5 separate regions of the Homo sapiens genome follow, and regions 2, 3, 4 and 5 are each linked to region 1. Evidence: promoter capture Hi-C in 16 types of primary human blood cells and fetal thymus (Javierre and others, 2016). All regions are on one chromosome and are shown on one strand. Each heading gives the region's core, a stretch centred on a gene start or on the middle of the fragment in contact. The rest is flanking DNA. Distances are from core to core; before and after follow the strand shown. Region 1 holds the start of PLA2G1B (phospholipase A2 group IB). Region 2 overlaps LOC105370030 (a long non-coding RNA gene). Region 3 overlaps LOC105378258 (a long non-coding RNA gene). Region 4 overlaps C12orf43 (chromosome 12 open reading frame 43). Region 5 holds the start of HNF1A-AS1 (HNF1A antisense RNA 1).

The links. Contacts are between HindIII fragments. The CHiCAGO score rates a contact against its expected background, and 5 or more counts as called.
Region 2: a fragment that was not itself captured here is called in contact with the fragment with the promoter of PLA2G1B in region 1 in 1 of 17 cell types (naive B cells); the score reaches 5.8 in naive B cells.
Region 3: a contact is called between a fragment that was not itself captured here and the fragment with the promoter of PLA2G1B in region 1, in 1 of 17 cell types (naive B cells). The highest score is 6.1, in naive B cells.
Region 4: a contact is called between a fragment that was not itself captured here and the fragment with the promoter of PLA2G1B in region 1, in 1 of 17 cell types (naive B cells). The highest score is 5.0, in naive B cells.
Region 5: the fragment with the promoter of HNF1A-AS1 here is called in contact with the fragment with the promoter of PLA2G1B in region 1 in 3 of 17 cell types (naive B cells, total B cells and erythroblasts); the score reaches 6.3 in naive B cells.

Annotation. Positions count from the first base shown.
Region 1 is chr12:120,326,099-120,329,991 of GRCh38, forward strand. It overlaps PLA2G1B (phospholipase A2 group IB), which reads right to left and starts at 1,681. Exons shown (of 4, transcript NM_000928.3): 1 at 1,622-1,681. The coding sequence starts at 1,655. The HindIII fragment of the contact is 6,320 bases long and covers 1,397-3,893 here.
Region 2 is chr12:121,116,979-121,120,871 of GRCh38, forward strand. LOC105370030 (a long non-coding RNA gene) reads left to right here. Exons shown (of 3, transcript XR_007063494.1): 3 at 2,471-2,728. Among named protein-coding and RNA genes, the nearest start is that of P2RX7, 14 kb to the right of the region's middle. The HindIII fragment of the contact is 9,656 bases long and covers 1-3,893 here.
Region 3 is chr12:121,065,633-121,069,525 of GRCh38, forward strand. It overlaps LOC105378258 (a long non-coding RNA gene), which reads right to left. Exons shown (of 4, transcript XR_007063492.1): 3 at 3,705-3,859. Among named protein-coding and RNA genes, the nearest start is that of OASL, 28 kb to the left of the region's middle. The HindIII fragment of the contact is 178 bases long and covers 2,156-2,333 here.
Region 4 is chr12:121,002,825-121,006,717 of GRCh38, forward strand. C12orf43 (chromosome 12 open reading frame 43) reads right to left here. Exons shown (of 6, transcript NM_022895.3): 4 at 3,497-3,570; 5 at 2,179-2,269; 6 at 1-1,665. The coding sequence ends at 1,329. Among named protein-coding and RNA genes, the nearest start is that of C12orf43, 12 kb to the right of the region's middle. The HindIII fragment of the contact is 4,279 bases long and covers 505-3,893 here.
Region 5 is chr12:120,970,516-120,974,408 of GRCh38, forward strand. It overlaps HNF1A-AS1 (HNF1A antisense RNA 1), which reads right to left and starts at 1,777. Exons shown (of 1, transcript NR_024345.1): 1 at 1-1,777. RefSeq lists an enhancer at 2,370-2,897. The HindIII fragment of the contact is 11,110 bases long and covers 1-3,893 here.

The sequences.
Region 1 (3,893 bases), core at 431-2,930:
CCACGCTGCCTCCCTGACCCCTGCCAGCTGCCTCCTCTGAAGACCGTTGGACCCAGGAACCTGGTAAAGTGAAAGTGGGTAGAGGTTTTTTTTTTTTTTTAATGAAAACTTTATATATATAAAGTTTATATCTTTGTGTGTGTGTATATATATATATATCTTCTTCTTTTTCTTCTTCTTCTTCTTCTGGGACCCTACCGCCTCAGCTAGGATTACAGGCATGTGCCACCCAGCTAGGCCTGATAGTTTTTTTTTTTTTTTTGAGATGGAGTCTTGCTCTGTTGCCCAGGTTGGAGTGCAGTGACACGATTTCAGCTCACTGCAAACTCTGCTTCCCGGGTTCACGCCATTCTCCTGCCTCAGCCTCCCTAGGTCAGATAGTTTTAAACTATCTGCACTGTTTATCCAGTGAATATTTATTGAGCACTTACTATGTGCCAGGCTCTGTCCTAGGAGCTAGAGATACAGCAGTGAACAGATATAATAATAATAATAATAATAATAATAATAATAATAATAATAATAATCTCTAACCTCATGGAGCTTACAACCTAGTGGGAGAGAAAAACAATAAATAATAAATGTGATAAGGCCGGGCACGGTGGCTCATGCCTGTAATCCCAGCACTTTGGGAGGCCGAGGCAGGCGGATCACAAGGTCATGAGATCGAGACCATCCTGGCTAACACGATGAAACCCCGTCTTTATTAAAAATACAAAAAAATTAGCGGGGCGTGGTGGCAGGCGCCTTTAGTCCCAGCTACTGGGGAGGCTGAGGCGGGAGAATGGCGTGAACCCAGCAGGTGGAGCTTGCAGTGAGCCGAGATCGCACCACTGTACTCCAGCCTTGGCGACAAAGCAAGACTCTGTCTCAATAATAATAAGAATAATAATAAATGTGATAAGTAAGGAAACTGGATACTGCATTAGAAAGGGGAAGAATAGAGCAGGATGAGGAGAATCTAAAAGGGAGGTCACCCAGCCTGGCCAACATGGTGAAAACCTGTCTCTACCAAAAAAAACACACAAAAAATTAGCTGGGCATGGTGGTGTGTGCCAGCTACTTGAGAGCTACAAGTCCCAGCTACTTGAGAGGCTGAGGCAAGAGAATTATTTGAACCCAGGAGATGGAGGTTGTAGTGATCTGAGATCACGCCACCGCACTCCAGCCTGGGCGACAGAGTGAGCCCCGTCTCAAAAATAAAATAAAGTAAAATAAAAATAAAAATTAAAATAAAATAAAATAAATGGGAGATTGGCCTAACTACTTAGTTGAGTAAGGTGGGAGGATCACTTGAGCCCACGAGTTGGAAGCTGTGGTGAGCTATGATCATGCCACTGAACTCCAGCCTGGGTGATAGAGCAAGACCCTGTCTGGAAAAAAGAAAATAAAGGCAAGCTTTCTTAGCTCAGGCAATCTGAGTTCAGACTTGCAGGTTGAAAAAGTGCCAGCCTTGAGGGAACCCCAATAGAGGAGCCCTTAAGCCCCACTGGGAACCTCGAATTGAGACTGCGGGGCTGGCCATCCCTGTTTGCTGTGGCCTGTGGCCCCCATTCCAGAGGAGTGAGATCTTAGCTCACTTGGGAGAGAAAGGCGGGTGGAGCCGGGGAGACTTGCCTACCTGTGAGCAGCACAGCTAGCACAAGGAGTTTCATCTTGCAGTCAAGGTGAGAAAAGAACTGAGATGACCAGTCTCAGGTATAGTCTTATAGTCAGTCTCCACACAACCCTGCCCAGATAAGGCTGGAGTGTTTGCTTTGCTCTTGGCTGAGTTTGGGGCTGGCCTTGAATCTGTCTGTTGCAGGAATGACCCTGACGATTTGCCAGCATGGGATCACTGGAAAATATGTTATGCATTTGTCCTTAGCAACTGTTAACCAAAGGGATGGTTTCTGGAGTTTTCAGATCTTACAATCTTGACCCTCATACCCACCACTTTGTACTCAGCCCAGCTTCACGGGCTGGTTGGGGAAAGCAAAGCCGTCAGTTCAGTCGGACGCTGGGATAAGGGAGACAAGAAGGAAGTGCAGCCTGGGCAACATAGAGAGACCTCATCTCTAAAAAAAAAAATGTTAACCAGGTGTGGTGGTGGATTGCACCTGTGATCCCAGCAACTCAGGAGGCTGAGATGGGAGGATCTCTTGAGCCAGGGAGGTCAAGGCTGCAATGAACAGTGATTGAGCCTCTGCAGCAGAGTGAGACCCTATTTCAAAAAAAAAAAAAAAAAAAGAAAGAAAGAAAAAAGATCGCTGCCTGCAGCCTCAATGTCTTATCAAGTGCCTGAATCTGTGCACTGGGTCTGGTTGAATAGTCCCATCAGTCGTGCACCTTGCAGATAAAGAGACAGGTTCAGAGAGTTGCGGTAACTTGCCCAAGGTCACACAGTTGGCAAATGACAAAATAGGGCTCCAGTTTAGATCTGTCTGATTCCAAGGCAGAGGTTTTATTTTTTTCCACCACTCCGCTCTGCAGTGTGGGTTTGTGAGAAAAACCTGGGCTTTGGATTCCAAAGGCCTGAGTCTGAATTATAGAATACTAAAGGGCATTAGAACTGTCATATCAGAGGCCAGGCACGGTGGCTCATGCCTGTAATCCCAGCACTTTGGGAGGCTGAGGCTGGCAGATCACCTGAGGTGGAGAGTTCGAGACCAGCCTGACCAACATGGAATAACCCTGTCTCTACTAAAAACACAAAATTAGCCAGGCATGGTGGCTTATGCCTGTAATCCCAGCTACTCCGGAGGCCGAGGCAGGAGAATGGCTTGAACCCTGGAGGCGGAGGTTGCGGTGAGCTGAGATCACGCCATTGCACTCCAGCCTAGGGAACAAGAGCAAAACTCCATCTCAAAAAAAAACCTGTCACATCACATATCTATTTATTTATATATATTTTTTGAGACGGAGTCTTGCTCTGTTGCCTAGGCTGGAGTGCAATGGCGCGATCTTGGCTCACTGCAAGCTCTGCCTCCCAGGTTCATGCCATTCTCCTGCCTCAGCCTCCCAAGTAGCTGGGACTACAGGCACCCACCACCACGCCCGGTTAATTTTTTTTTTTGTATTTTTAGTAGAGATGGGGTTTCACCGCATTAGCCAGGATGGTCTCGATCTCCTGACCTCGTGATCCACCTGCCTCGGCCTCCCAAAATGCTGGGATTACAGGCGTGAGCCACCGCGCCCGGCCAAATATCTACATAACATTGTTTAGCTGAAATTCACATAACATTAACCACGTTTAAGTAAACAATTCGGGGGCATTTAGTACCTTCACAGTGTTGTGCAACCATCACCTCTATGGGGTTCCAGAACATTTTTATCACTCCAGAAGGAAACCCTGTACCCATTAGCAGTCACACTCCCTCAGCCCCTGGTAACTGCTAATCTGCTTCTCTCTCTCTCTCTCTTTTTTTTTTGAGACAGAGTTTCGCTCTTGTCGCCCAGGCTGGAGTGCAATGGCACGATCTCGGCTTACTGCAACCTCCGCCTCCCAGGTTCAAGCGATTCTCCTGCCTCAGCCTCTCGTGTAGCTGGGAATTACAGGCGCCTGCCAGCATGCCTGGATAATTTTTGTATTTTTAGTAGAGACAAGGTTTCACCATGTTGGTCAGGCTGGTCTCAAACTCTTGACCTCAGGTGATCCACTCCTCAGCCTCCCAAAATGCTGGGATTATAGGCATGAGCCACTGTGCCTGGCCTCTGATCTGCTTCTCTCTATATAGATTTATAATTGGTTAACTTGGTGCTCTTCTGTTCCTATGTCACCTCTACAACAACCCTGTGGGATAAGGAGGGCCTGGTTATTTAATTTATTTATCTGTTTTTTTTTTTTGAGACAAAGTGTCGCTCTGTTTCCCAGACTGATGTGCAGTGACACGATCATAGTTCACTGCAGCCTC
Region 2 (3,893 bases), core at 1,394-3,893, 790 kb after region 1:
ATTTCAGATTGAGCTATAGGGGGATACTGGGCATGGCAGAAAAATCTATCAATCTCTGCTATAGTTAAATATTTGAATATTGGATTGTTTGCAGATCTTGTGAAATCAGTGACCTCTGGGTCATGTAGAAACCCAGCACATTCCCACAGGACACAGCCTAGCAGTTGATCAGAGCAGTAGTTCATACCTGAGACCCTGGATTTTCAGACCCTCCCCCAGGCCCCACCAGCCTCTGTCAGTGCCAAGCTGGACGGAACAAACCACATGAGGTTGGTCAGGCCTCTACCCCATGGAAAAACACAGAATGGTGATTTTTTGCCTGTACATTCCTGGACAAATAAATTCTCTTTTGGGAGCTTTTTCCTGGCTGGGCTATGTTATATGCCTCAGAGCTGCCCAGATCCCCTGGAAACCCAAAGATTTCCTTCCATGTGTAGGACTCATTCAGCCCCAGCTCAGAGGACTGTTTCATGGGTACTGGTGGCAGGAATTCTTGGTTGTCTTCAATGTCTGGCTCCCTGATTTTCGGTAGGGAACATGGTCAGCAGAATGAGGATGGCATTTCCTACCTTCTACTGCAGGTAGGTGTGACCATGTGACTACGCTCTGGCCAATGACCTGCAAGTGGCAGTGACAGATCCCATCCTTCAAGGGAGGAACATGCCTTCTCTTTCTCCTTTCCTCTTTCTTCCAGGCTTTTAATTTTTTATTGATTTATTGATTTTGAAAAATGGAGTCTTGCTCTGTCACCCAGGCTGGAGTGTAGTAGTGCAATCTCCGCTCATTGCAACCTCCACCTCCTGGGTTCAAGCAATTCTCCTGCTTCAGCTTCCCAAATAGCTGGGATTATAGGCACGTGCCACCACGCCCAGCTAATTTTTTGTATTTTTAGTAAAGATGAGGTTTCACCATGTTGGCCAGGCTGGTCTCGAACTCCTGACCTCAGGTGATCCACCTGCCTCAGCCTCCTAAAGTGCTTCCAGCCTTTTTAGAATTCAGTTCTGGTGGGAACCATTTTGGATCATGCTGATGAAGGTAACACCATAGAGATGGCAGAGCTGGGGTTGGGTCTGGTGACTCACGCTTGTAATCTTACCACTCTGGGAGGCCGAGGTGGGAGGATTGCTTGAGCCCAGGAGTTTGAGACCAGCCTGGGCAACATAGTGAAACCTCATCTCTACAAATAAACTCTTGGCTAAAGCAATCCTCCCACCTCAGGCTCCCAAGTAGCTAGGCTACAAGCACACACCACCATGCCTAATTAAAAAAAATTTTTTTTTGTAGAGACAGGGTCTCGCTATGTTGCCCAGGCTGGTCTTGAACTCTTGGCCTCAAGTGATCCTCCTGCCTTGGCCTCCCAAATTGCTGGGATTACAGGCATGAGCCGCTACACATGGCTCATATTCTCAATAGAGCAGTCCCAATTGGCCACTGACCAGCCAATAGTCTTGCTCTCCTGGGCAGATGTTCACCCTGGTCCAATAAGCCACAGCTATGGATATGAAGGTCTGTGATCTCAAATTGAGCTAGAGGGGGAAGATGGGCATGGCAGAAAAATCTATCAATCTCTGCTACAATTAAATATCTGAGGTCAGACATGGTGGTTCACGCCTAGAAACCTAGCACTTTGGGAGGCTGAGGTGGGTGGATCACGAGGTCAGGAGTTCAAGACCAGCCTGAACAAGATGGTGAAACCCTGTCTCTACTAAAAATACAAAAATTAGCTGGGCATGGTGGCAGGCACCTGTAATCCCAGCTACTCGGGAGGCTGAGGCAGAGAATTGCTTGAACCCAGGAGATGGAGGTTGCAGTGAGCCGAAATCGTGCCATTGCACTCCAGCCTGAGCGACAGAGCGAGATTCTGTCTCAAAAAAAAAAAAAATTGAATATTGGATTATTGAAACTTGGCATAGAGCAGCCACTGTCCTTGTCTTCTAAGAGCTTATATCATATTATTATTTTATTATTATTAATAACATATCATTATTAATTAATAGCTGCAGTTCACTGAACAGTATTAGATACCAGGCATGGTGCTTGTAATTAGTCATCTCATTGAATTCCCTTAATGAAAATTAGGTAGTCAGAGACCTTTCTTCATGGATCGCAACCCCAGGGGCATGTGGGATTTCAGAGATGTGTTTTGGGGAAAGAGGTATAATTATTCAACTTTCAGTTAATTAGCCACTTAGAGAAATTAAGTGGTAGGTGGAGTTGTAAAGGAAGGCAAAGTACTGGGCAGGCAGATGCTAAGTGGGCGACTGTTCTAGGCATAAGAGAAATGGGGGTGGGTATGAAAAAAAGCAAGAGAAAGAGAGAGAGAGAGAGAGAGACAAGGGAAATTTGGTTTGACTGGATAAAAAGGCCAGTGAAAAGAGGGAGTTTTGGTAAGAGCTATGCCATGGGCAGGGAGAAGTACAGAGATCTTCAATCATGGACTCTATCGCCATCCCCTCTTCTCTTCCTGCAGGTGGGCAGAACCAAGGTGCCCTCCCTACACCTTCCTGGGGCCTCCAGCGATCCTGAGCTCAGCCTCCTGACCTGCAGACCCCTCAGCTCTGGCCCTCACGTCCTGCTTGCTGTACCTGCTTTATCCCATATCACCATCTCCATTCCTCAGCATAGTGACAATCCCAGTTCCTACCCATTCCACTGGCTTCTCCATTTGGCTTGGAGCTCTTTAGCTGGATTGAGACGACTACTCTGATGAGTGCCATGTCACTGGCTCAACAAAATGGGCCCAAGTGAGTCAATGTCATTGACATGAAGGTGCTGTCAGTTTGGTGGGAACCAAGGGAATGAGACTGTGTTTTAGCTGCGTTCGTTTGAACAGTTACACACTTAGGGCTTCTTATGCGGATGCTCAGAGAGAAATATGGAAGACGAGATCTCGTAGAAAACAAGAAGACATGTTGTAAATGAGTCAGGCCTCCTGGAGTCCAGGACTAGGGAGGAACTCTTTATTGAGGATCACTCGAGGGAGTCTTGGGGCTGGTGGTCTTCACGCCACAGCCCCATAACTCAGCTCCTCTCTTCCTTCTCTCAGTCTCTCTGCTTCTGTTTTTTGTCTCATGTCCTAAATGTCCAACTATTCAGCATAACTTTATTCTGCTTCCCCTCTCTATCCTCTGTAGCAAAATGCACTGTTGGAATTACATTTTTATTTTTATTTTTATTTTTATTTTTTTAAGACGGAGTCTCACTCATTGCCTAGGCTGGAATGCAGCGGTGTGATCTCGGCTCACTGCAACCTCCACCTCCAAGGTTCAAGTGATCCCCTTGCCTCAGCCTCCTGAGTAGCTGGAACTACAGATGCCTAACACCATGCCCAGTTAATTTTTATATTTTTAGTAGAGATGGGATTTCACCATGTTGGCCAAGGTGGTCTCGAACCCCTGACCTCAGATGATCTGTCTGCCTTGGCCTCCCAAAATGCTGGGATTACAGGCATGAGCCAATGTGCCCAGCTGGAATTAAATTAATAATTTTTATTTCTGCTTTAGCGAGAGAGGCGGTGACTCACTGATACAAGGAAGATATTTCCCCTTCCAAGGGTGATGTATTCAGCTTTTGGGTTTAAAAGGAGATGCTATCAGGCACGCGTGGCTATCCTGGCAGATTACATAAAAATACAGAAGAAATGTTCTTTGTGTTAAAAGAATAAAAAAGAAAAAACAAAACGTGTTTCCTCAAAAACTTAAATACAGAATTACCACATGACCCAGCAATTCTACTACTGGCTATATCCCCCCAAAGAATTGAAGGCAGGAACATGAATAGGAATTTGTAGAACCATGTTTATACCAGCATTATCCACAGTAGCCAAAAAGTGGAAAGAAACTAAATGTTCATCTACGGATTAACAGACAAACAAAATGTGGAATATCTGTACA
Region 3 (3,893 bases), core at 995-3,494, 740 kb after region 1:
CTGGTGCCCAAGCTGGAGCACAGTGCCTTAATCTTGACTTACTGTAGCCTCAACCTCCCAGGCTCAAGTGAGCCTTCTGCCTCAGCCTCCCGAGTAGCTGGAACCACAGGCAAACACTGGCAAGCCTTGCTAATATTTCATATTTTTTGTAGAGATGGGGTTTCTCTATGTTGCCCAGGCTGGTCTCAAACTCCTGAGCTCAAGCAGTCCTACTGCCTTGGCCTCCAAAGTGCTGGGATTATAAGTGTGAACCACTGCACCCTGCCCAGTGTAATTCTTATACTAGTGCCTCTATGAGTAGTATGTATATTTTCCTTTGGCTTCTTTCAAAGTTTTTTTTTTTTCTTTTTCTTTTTTTTTTCGAGATGGAGTCTTGCTCTGTTGCCCAGGCTGGAGTGCAGTGGCGTGATCTTGGCTCACTGCAAGCTCTGTCTCCTGGGTTTAAGCAATTCTCCTGCTTCAGCCTCCTGAGTAGCTGGGACTACAGGCACCCATCACCTCGCCCAGCTAATTTTTGTATTTTTAGTAGAGACTGTTTCACCATGTTGGCCAGGCTGGTCTCGAACTCCTGACTTCAAGTGATCAGCCCACCTTGGCCTCCCAAAGCGCTGAGATTACAGGCCTGAGCCACTGTGCCCGGCTTCTTTCAAAGTTTTTATCTTTGATTTTACAAAATTTGAATATGATATGATGAGATATTGACTTCTTTGTATTTATCCTGTTTGGTGTTCTGAGATTCCTGGATCTATGGCTTGGTGTCTGTCAATAATTTTGGTGAGTTATCAGCCATTATTAGTTAAAATATTTCTTCTGCTTCTTTCATTTTTCTCCTTTTAGAATTCCCTTTACGAAGATGTTATACCTTTTGTAATTGTCCCGCCATTTTTTGATATTTTTTTCTGTTTTCCTCAGTCTTTTTTTCTCTTGCTTTTCAGTTTGGGAAGTTCTATTGACATTTTCTCAGGTTCACGGATTTCTTCATCAACCACGTGCAGTCCACTGACGGGTCCATCAAAGGCCTTCTCCGTTTCTGTTACGGCATTTTTTATTTCTAGCATTCCCTTTTGATTCTTAGAGTTTTCACTTCTCTACTTACATCCCATTGGTTCTTGAATCTCATCCACTTTTTCCATTAGAGCCTTTAGCATATTAATCATAGTTATCAGTCTGATAATCATCAAATCTCTGTATATTGCAGTCTGGCTCTGATGCATGCTCTGTCTCTTCATACTGTGGTTTTTGCCCTTTAATATGCTTTGAACATTTTAGGATGAAGATGAGAGAGTTGTTATGTTTCAAAGAAAATAGGTACTGGTTGGGCGCGGTGGCTGACGCCTATAATCCCAGCACTTTGGGAGGCCGAGGTAGGTGGATCACCTGAGGTCAGGAGTTTGAGACCAGCCTGGCCGACACAGTGAAACCCCTTCTCTACTAAATATACAAAAAATTAGCTGGGCGTGGTGGCATGCACCTGTAATCTGAGCTACTTAGGAGGCTGAGGCAGGAGAATGGCTTGAACCCGGGAGATGGAGGTTGCAGTGAGCCGAAGTGGTGCCATTGCACTCCAGCCTGGGCAACAAGAGCCAAACTCCGTTTGGAAAAAAGAGTCTTCTCGTTATTTATCAGTTTGGGACAGGTGCTGAGGAGCGGCCAAGCACTGAAAGAATTTTACTGGCTGTCCCAAGTGGTGTCCCCGAGCTCTCAAAATCTACGAGCTGTCCGAAAGCATTTGGGCTTTCTAAGTGGGTTTCACATAATGACTATGATAAACCTGTGGTATTTATGCACTAATACCTGTGCTGGGCTATGTGCCCACTGACACCAGCATATATTGTGGATAGTGTGTAGGAACTCTATAGGCTCAGATAATTCCAGACGTGTCAATACATACAGATGATGGAACTCTTTTGCACAGTGACTGGTGGTCCCACAGCTGAGTGATGATGGTGCATCCGTTGCTCAGAGCCTCGGCGCTGGAGCCACATGCTTGGGTTCCCATCTTGGCTCTTTTACTTAGGAGCTCATAAACTTGATCACATTCATCTCTGTCTCTTTTTCTCCAACCGGTGAAAGGTGAGAGTAAGCCACGCCATACGTATGTGGTGACTTCTGAATTGTTCAATGTGTATAATGTTATCAGTGCAAATGCTCATGAAGCTTAATTATCAGTGAAATGCCTTGCTTTAGATTGCACGACTTAACAAGCTCAAAGATTCATGCAAGCCCGGGATTCCGAACTCCCAAGCCATTGTTCTTTCTATGACATCTTCCTGCTTGGTCTACAACCAACCACTTTATCCAAATTCATACTCAATTTTGAAATACTCAGATAAAGCTTTCAAAAATGCTGTCTGTGTCTGGCTGAGTGCACACTCAATGGCCACTCCACATAAAAGGGCACATTAGGAGGCCTGGCACGGTGGCTTATGCCTGTAATCCCAGCACTTTGGGATGCCAAGGCAGGTGGATCACCTGAGGTCAAGAGTTCGAGACCAGCCTGGTTAATATGGGGAAACCCTGTCACTACTAAAAATACAAAAAAAAATTTTTTAAAGGGCACTATGGTCCTCCAGAGTGGTCCAGTTGCTTGAGTCATGGTCAACAGATGAGCTGTGCGAATGAGATGAATACCAGTGTCCTGGGTGGAGCCGCTTATCTACTGACAAGTCTGCTGTGCTAAAAGTGGTGAAAAATATCATCTTGCCTTATTTATTCCTAGCAAATGTAAGTGCCTCTAACCTTAGATTGCTTCCGAGTCATGGAACCAACAGTATCTTAGCATCAACTCCGGGTGATGGGTTAGGGGAACAAGTCACACAATATATCAAAACAATATAAACAGTTTTTCAGAGCTGCAGCTCTATATGCAAACTTGTACAATTATCACCTTATTATTTTTAAATTTATCTTTATATATATATCCATATGACTTACTTGTTTCTTGGTGTGAATAAATCTGTATATTCTTGGTTAATAGTGTCTACCGATTCATTTCATGTCCCTATCTTTATTCAATATGGGCTACTCTTTGGATGAGAAAAAAATGATTGTACTTGAGTATATTTACCTTTGGAAAGGTAAGTAGGTTGGGTGATTGACTGTAGTTGATACCTCTATGATTCTGCATAAACTCATTTATAAAATAAACTCAAATCATAAAATAAATAATAAAAAATAAAAGTGGATCTTGTTTTACACACGAACACATAGACAATACACATTCTTATTATCTCTTTTTTAAAAAGTTGATTTATGGATATAAATGACATATCCCAAGTTTACTAAACTAAATAAACATTTCATCAAGAGGAAATACATATTAAAAGCAAAGATAGGTAAACTTGATTGCGTGAAAAGCCACAAAGACATCTGCATCTTTCTAGGTTTGCTCCAAATTTTTGAAATTAATTATTTTAGTAGCTACTTAATTAGGTAAAAAAACTGCATTACAACAAACTTTGCCATATTTTCCCCAGGAGTATACCTAATTGGGCAGTTTGAGGGGTACAGGATGTAATAGGAAATAGCACATGTTCTTTAAAGGAAAAATTCAAAGGGAACCTGCTTGACGCTAGAATCAAATATATAAATTAAGGAATAAAATAGATCCCCAAAACACATTTATAACCGCATACGAAAAATACAGAGGATAATTTTTAAATACATTTAAGAGGACAGCATTCAACAGGCCAGTGTGAACATACCTCTAATGCAGGAACTCAGGTTTCCCATAAGAAATACCAAAATCTGGCCGGCACGGTGCAGAGTGAGACTCTGTCTCCACCACGCCCGGCCAGAGGTTCCATTCTTGAAATTCCATCACCAGATATTTCTATCATTCCTAAGTGATCTAATATTTCTAGAAGCAATAAGCAAACTGTTCAGAATTAGAT
Region 4 (3,893 bases), core at 1,394-3,893, 680 kb after region 1:
ACAAGCAGCCTCACAGGCGCTCACTACCATGCCCAACTAATTTTTGTATTCTTTTTTTTATAGAGACGAGGTTTCACCATGTTGCCTAGGCTGGTCTGGAACTCGGCTCAAGTGATCCACCTGCCTCGGCCTCCCAAAGTGCTGGGATTACAGGTGTGAGCCACCATCCCTGGCCATGAGCTTCTACTTCTTTTCTTTTTCTTTTTCTTTTTTTTTTTTTGAGATAGGGTCTTGCTCCATTGCTTAGGCTAGAGTGCAGTGGCGCAATCTCGGCTCACTGCAACCTGCACCTCCTGGGTTCAAGCGATTCTCCCACCTCAGCCTCCTGAGTAGCTGGGATTACGGGCGTGTGTCAACATGCTCAGCTAATTTTTGTATTTTTAGTAGAGATGGGGTCTCGCCATGTTGGCCAGGCTGGTCTCAAACTCCTGGCCTCAATTGATCCACCTCCTTGGCCTCTCAAAATGCTTGGATTACAGGCATGAGCCACTGCACCCGGCCACAAGCTTCTACTTCTTGCAGAATGCCTTTGTCCCATGAAACCTAGTCCACGAGTGCTATGACACTTCCTGAAGTCTTGGGTGGGGTGAACGCACAAATCCTGGGGGTGTAGAGAGGAGGAGGATGTTTACTTAAAATGTCTTAAGGTTCAGCATTGACAGAGAGGCAATATCCAAATCACTCTAAGTTTTGTTTTGGGTCCTCTGACAATTGAGTTTCCATAATCTGGTCGGCTCAGAGACACCATCATGTGTGGTATATTCACAAATGCAGACAAAGAAAATTCTAGAAAGCCAGGGGTGAAAAAGCTCTCCTTTCTCAGACGATTCTGTGAAGTCTATGTGGGCTAAGGAGAGAAGAACAAAAGTTTCTCTGGGCCTTGGCCTCTTGGGGATCCCTTCTCTCATTTTCTAAAAACTGTTTCTCACACCAGGCTAAGGAGGTGGTGGGGAAGGTCTCCCTTCCCCTGCCCACCTCAGACAGTTCTAGGGAGATGGAGGTTTCACCACTTGGCCACTAGTCTCAAATAACTGGAAGGTTCCTTTTTTCCTGAGGTCATGAAATGTTCTGGAACCACAGCGCCCCCGCCAGCCCTCCGTGGGAGCACAGAGGGGCAGGCCTTGATTGGTCTTCTCACCCTACAGCCACTTTTTTGGCCCAACTCTCGAGCAAGCCTTCATCACCATCAGGGTCTCATGGGCAGTCTGGGTTTGCCAGCCCAGTCCTTGAACTTGGAGAGGGAGGTGGGGCTTGGAAATGCCTTGTCCCCAGGGTGGGGGGGACACCTTGTCCTTGGAGCTGGCTGAGCCCTGTGCCCATGGCTGGGTTCAGTTTGCAGGTATAGCTGTAGCACTCTTTGCTGGTGGGAATGGAGAGGTCTCGCTGGCCTTCTTTGCCTTTTTCTTCTTTTTGGTCCCAAGCGACACCTGGTCCCCGTTGAGCTCACCTGACTTCTGCTTCTGGACTGTGGCCATGCTGGTGGGGGTGGTGGCAGCGACAGCCGAGTCGACACTGGCCACCTTCTTGGCTTTCTTTTTCAACTTCCTTTTCTTCTTTGCCTCCTTCTCCACTGTTCCAGGGCTGTGGATGGCTGACTCCTGTAGGATGTCGGACGCCGACACAGCTGCCTCCCGGCACCGCCGCCACTCCTCGTCACTGTCCTCACTGCTGCAACGAGAGGGTACCCTGGGTTAGCTGGAGTCAGGACACAGCCCCAGAGCTGCCTCTCGCTGTCCTCCCTTGGTCCAGGTCACCAGAAGGTGGCCGCAGAGAGAGGCAGGTAGTGAGTTCAGGCTTGGGAGTGAGGCCAACCTGGCTTCCAATACTGGCTTCTGGGCGTAGCAGCCTTGTGACCTCCTTAAGTGACTTAACCTCTCTGACTGTATCATCTCTAAAACGGGGATCTTAACAGAGTCCAGGCCTCCCAGGGATGTCCCAGGAGGCAACTATGATCAAGTGAGGTGTCTGGCCCAAGACAGGTGCTCAAAAGCAGTAAACATCCAAAGCTGCCGCCAAGAGGGCTTTCCCTCCCGCTGAGCTCATGATTTCTCCAGCTGCCTGACAGGGCCACTGCCTTGGCCTGGTCCTGACTGGAGTCTGCTTGGCTATTCCAGGGAACCCACCAAGACAGAAGAGGAGAAAAAAGGAGGGGACGTGAGGAGAGGTGTGAGTTCTCACCTGGAGCTGGAGGGCTGTCGCTTTCGGCGGGGTTGGGGAGACTCTTCCTTCTCACGGCCTCCAGGGACAGATGTGAAGAAAAGGCGGAAACCTAAGATTCAATGGGGCAGAGTCAAACAAAAACAAAACAAAACAAAAAGAAACATAAAAAAATAAAAAATAAAGAAACAAAAAAGAAAAAAATTTTAAAAAGGAAAACGAAAGAAAGAAAAGATAAAGAGAAACAAAAAAAAAATTTTAAGAAGACACAAAATAAAAAAATTTAAAAAAGAAACAATAACAAAAAAACCCAACCAAGCAAACAAACAAAAAAAACAAAGGAGCAGAGTCAGCACCCCCAGATGCCAGCCCCTCCTCCCAGGTGCCAGGTGCTGAAGCTGCCCCGCCTCTGCCCTCAGGAGCTCCTGGTCCAGAGGCAAAGACCCAGGAATCAGTCGTCTAACTACAAAGTGATTCTGCATCTGCCAAGGGTCATGCTGATGCCTGATGGAGCCAGTGGAGGGCGCGCTGGAGCAGGAGCCAGCAGCCACATCAGCTCAGCAAGCCCTCAGAGGCTTCTGGAAGTCAGCACTTGAGCTCCTGACCTAAGGCAGCCTTCAAAGTGGCAAATGTGTTGGTACAGGACAGACGCAGATGGGCGAGGCTGTGGAGGGCAGCAGTAAAGTGCTCCTGCTCAGGGTGACACAGACGAGGCCGCCTCAGGCAAATGACTTCGTTTCTCAGGGCCTCAGTCTCCTTGTCTGTACATGGGGTTCAATCATAATACCTGCCTCACCACAGGGGCTGAGCAGATGAAAGAATGGTGAGGTGGCCCATGCCTGTAACCCCAGTACTTTGGTAGTCTGAGGCGGGAGGATAGCTTGAGGCCAGGAGTTTAAGACCAGCCTGGGCAACATGACAGAACCCTGTCTCTAAAAAAAAATACAAAAATTAGCCAGGTGTGGTGGTGCACGCCTGTAGTCCCAGAACTTTGGAAGGCTAAGGTGGGCAGATGGCTTGAGGCCAGGAGTTCAAGACCAGCCTGGGCAACATAGCGAGATCCTGTCTCTAAAAAACATAAATAATTAGCCAGGGGTGGTGGTGTGTGTCTGTGGTCCCAGCTACTCAGGAAGCTGAGGTGGGAGGACTGCTTGGGTCCGGGAGGTTGAGGCTGCATTGAGCTATAATTGCTCCACTGCACTCCAGCCTAGGTGGCAGAGAGAGTTCCTATCTCAAAAAAAGAAAAAAAAAAAAGAATATACCAAAACTGTTTCGCCCACCTCCAGACACACATTAGGTGCTTAATAAATGATAGCTTCTATTAAGTATAACCACTCACCATCATCCTCCAAAGCGACTTTCTGTACCTTAGCTTTTGCTGGCTCCTTTGCTGCTTCTGAGATGGTAATGAAGCTACAGGGAGACGAGACGGTTGATTTAAGATGAGATTTTTGGATAACGACAAAAACAAAATTCTTTTTCAAGTGGAGGGGATGGGGTATGTGATTGTAAATGCAAAAGCGAAAGCGTGCTGGCCTAGTAAGAGGGCTGATGGTCTGGTTATAACATGCTGACCAGCCTCTGCCACGCGAACTGCAGTGCTTCATTTCTTTAAAGCCCACTTTATTCCAGTAAGTGTTGAAGAAGTTTTAAAGACATAGTAAAACAAGATGAGGCCAGGCATGGTGGCTCACGCCTGTAATCCTAGCACTTTGGGAGGCCAAGGCAGGCAGATC
Region 5 (3,893 bases), core at 527-3,026, 640 kb after region 1:
TACAGGCTGACAAAAGTGGGCAGGGGGTAAGGGCAGGTGGTGGGAGTGGCCTCTACGCCAGAGAAGGGAATGGAGAGGTCAGGCTGGCTAGAGAGTGGGGTTGAGTCGTCCATGCCCTTGAATGCCAGGATGAGGGCTAAAGAGTCAAATGGAATGGGTGACTTCATATGCAGAAGTTTTTACAAGAGAAGAGAACTCAGTTTGGCCAAGAGAAGTGGGGTCGTCATGTTGGTAATCACGTAACAGTGATCGTTCAGTCATGCGGAATGCTTTCAAGGTGTTGGACACTGTTCATTTTTTATTTTTAGTTTTTGAGGCAGGGTCTCACTCTGTCGCCCAGGCTGGAGTGCAGTGGTGCAATCTTGGCTCACTGCAACCTCTGTCTCCTGGGTTCAAGCGATTCTTCTGCCTCAGCCTCCCTAGTAGCTCGGATTACAGTTGTTTGCCACCACGCCCGGCTAATTTTTGTATTTTTAGTAGAAATGAGGTTTCGCCATGTTGGCCAGACTGGTCTCGAACTCCTGACCTCAAATGATCCACCTGCCTCGGCCTCCCAAAGTGCTGGGATTGCAGGTGTGATCCACCACACCTGGCCGCTTGCAGGGTGTTGGACACTGTGGATATCACCTCATTCATTCTCCTAACAACCCAAGAGAAGAGGAACTGAGGCAAAGAGAAGTTAAGCAAGTTGCCCAAGGCCATACGGCTAGTAAACGGCAGAACGAGGCTCAAACCCAGGCACTCTGGCTCTAGAGTGTGTGTTCCTAACCACTGTGCTCTAGCACCTCGGAACCTTAGTCTCTTCATCTGCAAAATCAGCACTGAGGTGACAAGGCCAACGAGCAGAGGGTTGGAGTTACCCAGAACAACAACAACAACAAAAGTAATAGTAACACATATTTGGTCAAGGCTTAGATTCTGGCGTCATGGGGATCTGGGTTCAAATCCTAATTCTGCCTTAGCCGATTAGGGTCCCTATCCTCTTAAAGCCTTGGTTTCCTTATCTGTAAAATGGGGATATCATGAAGCTGTTAGATGTTAAATGAGAAAATGAATGAGAAAATTGCATGTACTGTCCATAAAGTTGAAAAGATAATAGGGGTGGGAAGGAGAACAGTCCGAGTTTGAATGCAGGTGGGCCCTGGGGCATTGTCTGGACTGAAGGACAAGGGTCAGTTGAATTGCCAAAGAGCTCTGAGACTGGCTGAAGGGACACTCGTCTTGTGCTAGCTGCTAAGACCAAGGGGAAGCCTGTGCCTCGCCCGAATTTTAGTCTTGCAAACAGCTGCTCACCCAGTAGGAGAGAATTGTGATAAAACTCATAGCCACCATTTCTTGAATATCTACTATGCCCCGGGACACAGCAGACTATTTTAGAGAATTTGCGAAGGAAACACAGTGACATCTGTTGGACACCTTGCAAACTACCAGCTCAGGATAGTTAAATTTGAATGTTAGATGGAGGGAACTTCCTTTCCACAATGACATGATTTTGTAAAGCTGAGTGTATGGCAGTTGTCATGATTAAAAGCAAGTGCCATGCAGAAGTTATTGTGTAACAGGAAATGAGATTAGATAGCGTCCAATCTAATCTCAAGGTTTGAGTAGCTGTGGACAGCCCAACAGGCACAGGCCTCCCGTTAGTACATCCATACGAGAAGTTAAGAATGAGTGAAAATAGTTTTTTTTTTTTTAATTTATGTGCATTATTTTTTTCAAGCAGCTACCTTGTTAGGACATACTTAATAGTTATCTTGGCCTACCTACTGCACTTACTAAACAACTGTTCACTTTTTAATTTTTAATTTTCAGATTTTTTTGAGACGGATTGTTACTCTATCGCCCAGGCTGGAGTGCAGTGGCGTGATCTCTGCTCACTGCAACCTCCGCCTCCCGGGTTCAAGCTATTCTCCTGCCTCAGCCTCCTGAGTATCTGGGACTACAGGTGTGCGCCACCACATCCAGCTAATTTTTGTATTTTTAGTAGAGATGGGGTTTTACCATGTTGGCCAGGCTGATCTGGAACTCCTGACCTCAGGTGATCCACCTGCCTCGGTCTCCCAAAGCGCTGGGATTACAGGTATGAGCTACCATGTCCGGCTGTTCCTTTTTTTTTTTTTCTTTTTCTTTTTTTTTTGAGACGGAGTTTCTCTCTGTCACCCAGGCTGGAGTGCAGTGTCATGATCTCAGCTCACTGCAACCTCTGCCTTCTGGGTTCAAGTGATTCTCCTGCCTCAGCCTTCCGACTAGCTGGGATTATAGGTGCCCACTGACAAGCCTGGCTAATTTTTGTATTTTTAGTAGAGACGGGTTTTCACCATGTTGGCCAGGCTGGTCTCGAACTCCTGACCTCAAGTGATCCACCCACTTCGGTCTCCCAAAGTGCTGGGATGACAGGCATGAGCCACTGCGCCCAGCCACTGTTCGCTTTTTTTCTCAGTGGTTCTCTAGTCCATTGCCTTAACCACTCACCATGACTACAGCTCTTATTTGCAGTGACTCTCAAGAATGCAAATGCAAATGCCATTCCTGACCTCGAGTTAATTCAGCTTTGTCCCCTGAGCATGGGGGAAAGGCAGGCTGGGGGCTGGAACTTTCTGCTTGTGTACCTATCTCTTTAGACTCTGGAGGCTCCTCCCCAATCTCTGTCATTCCCTCTCCAACCAAATCCACCTGCCGTCCCAGACTCAAATGCTCAGCCACCTAACTGCCTGAGGACCCAGCAGTTAATGAGTTTACATGCTGGGGGCAGGAGTCAGGGCCAACACTCCTTGGTTCCTCTGGCTCCCTGGAAAGGGAAAGTCACCAAGAGGCAGCTGCAGGCAGCAAAGAGAATAAGCAGGAGAACCTCAAAGCCACAAAGGGACAGCACACAGCATCTTCCCTGTTTAGCCTGGACTTGAGAATGCTGTCCCCAGCAGTAAGCTGCTCAACCTCAAAGCAACTTGCACGGGGGTTTACAAAAAAATGCACTTGGCCGGGCACGGTGGCTCACGCCTATAATCCCAACAGTTTGGGAGGCCGAGGTGGGTGGATCTTTTGAGGCCAGGAGTTTGAGACCAGCCTGGCAAACATGGTGAAACCCTGTCTCTACCAAAAATACAAAAATTAGCCAGGCATGGTGGTGTGTGCCTGTAGTCCCAGCTACTCAGGAGGCTAAGGTAGGAGGATTGCTCGAACCCAGGAGGCAGAGGTTACAGTGAGCTGAGATCGCACCACTGTACTCCAGCCTGGGTGACAAAGTGAGGCTCTGTCTCAAAAATAAAAATAAAACATAAATGCACTGGAGGAAAGAGGGTACCACTCTCCTTAAGGCGGGGGCTGCCAACTTGTCCTGCACAGCCCGTCCGCCTGCCTCAGGTGGACTTAAAGCCCAGCTCTGAGGGACTCTGAGCAGTCATTTAACCTCTCTGAGCCTCTCTTTCCTCCCCTGCAGAAGGGGGATTATAACAGTTCCTAATTCATGAGTTGTTCTTGGAGTGAAATACATTACTGGCCAGGTGAGATGGCTCATGCCTGTAATCCCAACACTTTGGGAGGCTGAGGTGAGAGGATTGCTTGAGCCCAGGAGTTCGAGACCAGCCTGGGCAACAAAGCAAGACCCCCATCTCTAAGAAAAGTAAATAAATAGGCAGGGTGCAGTGGCTCACCCCTGTAATCCCAGCACCTTGGGAGGACGAGGTGGGCAGATGGCTTGGGCTCAGGAGTTTGAGACCAGCCTGGGCAATGTGGCAAACTCTTGTCTCTACTAAAAAATACAAAAATTAGCGAGGCATGGTGGCACACGCTTGTAGTCCCAGCTATTGGAGAGGCTGAGGTGGGAGGATCACGGGAGCCCCAGAAGCATAGGTTGCAGTTTGCCAAGATTGTGCCACTGCACTCCAGCTCGGGCG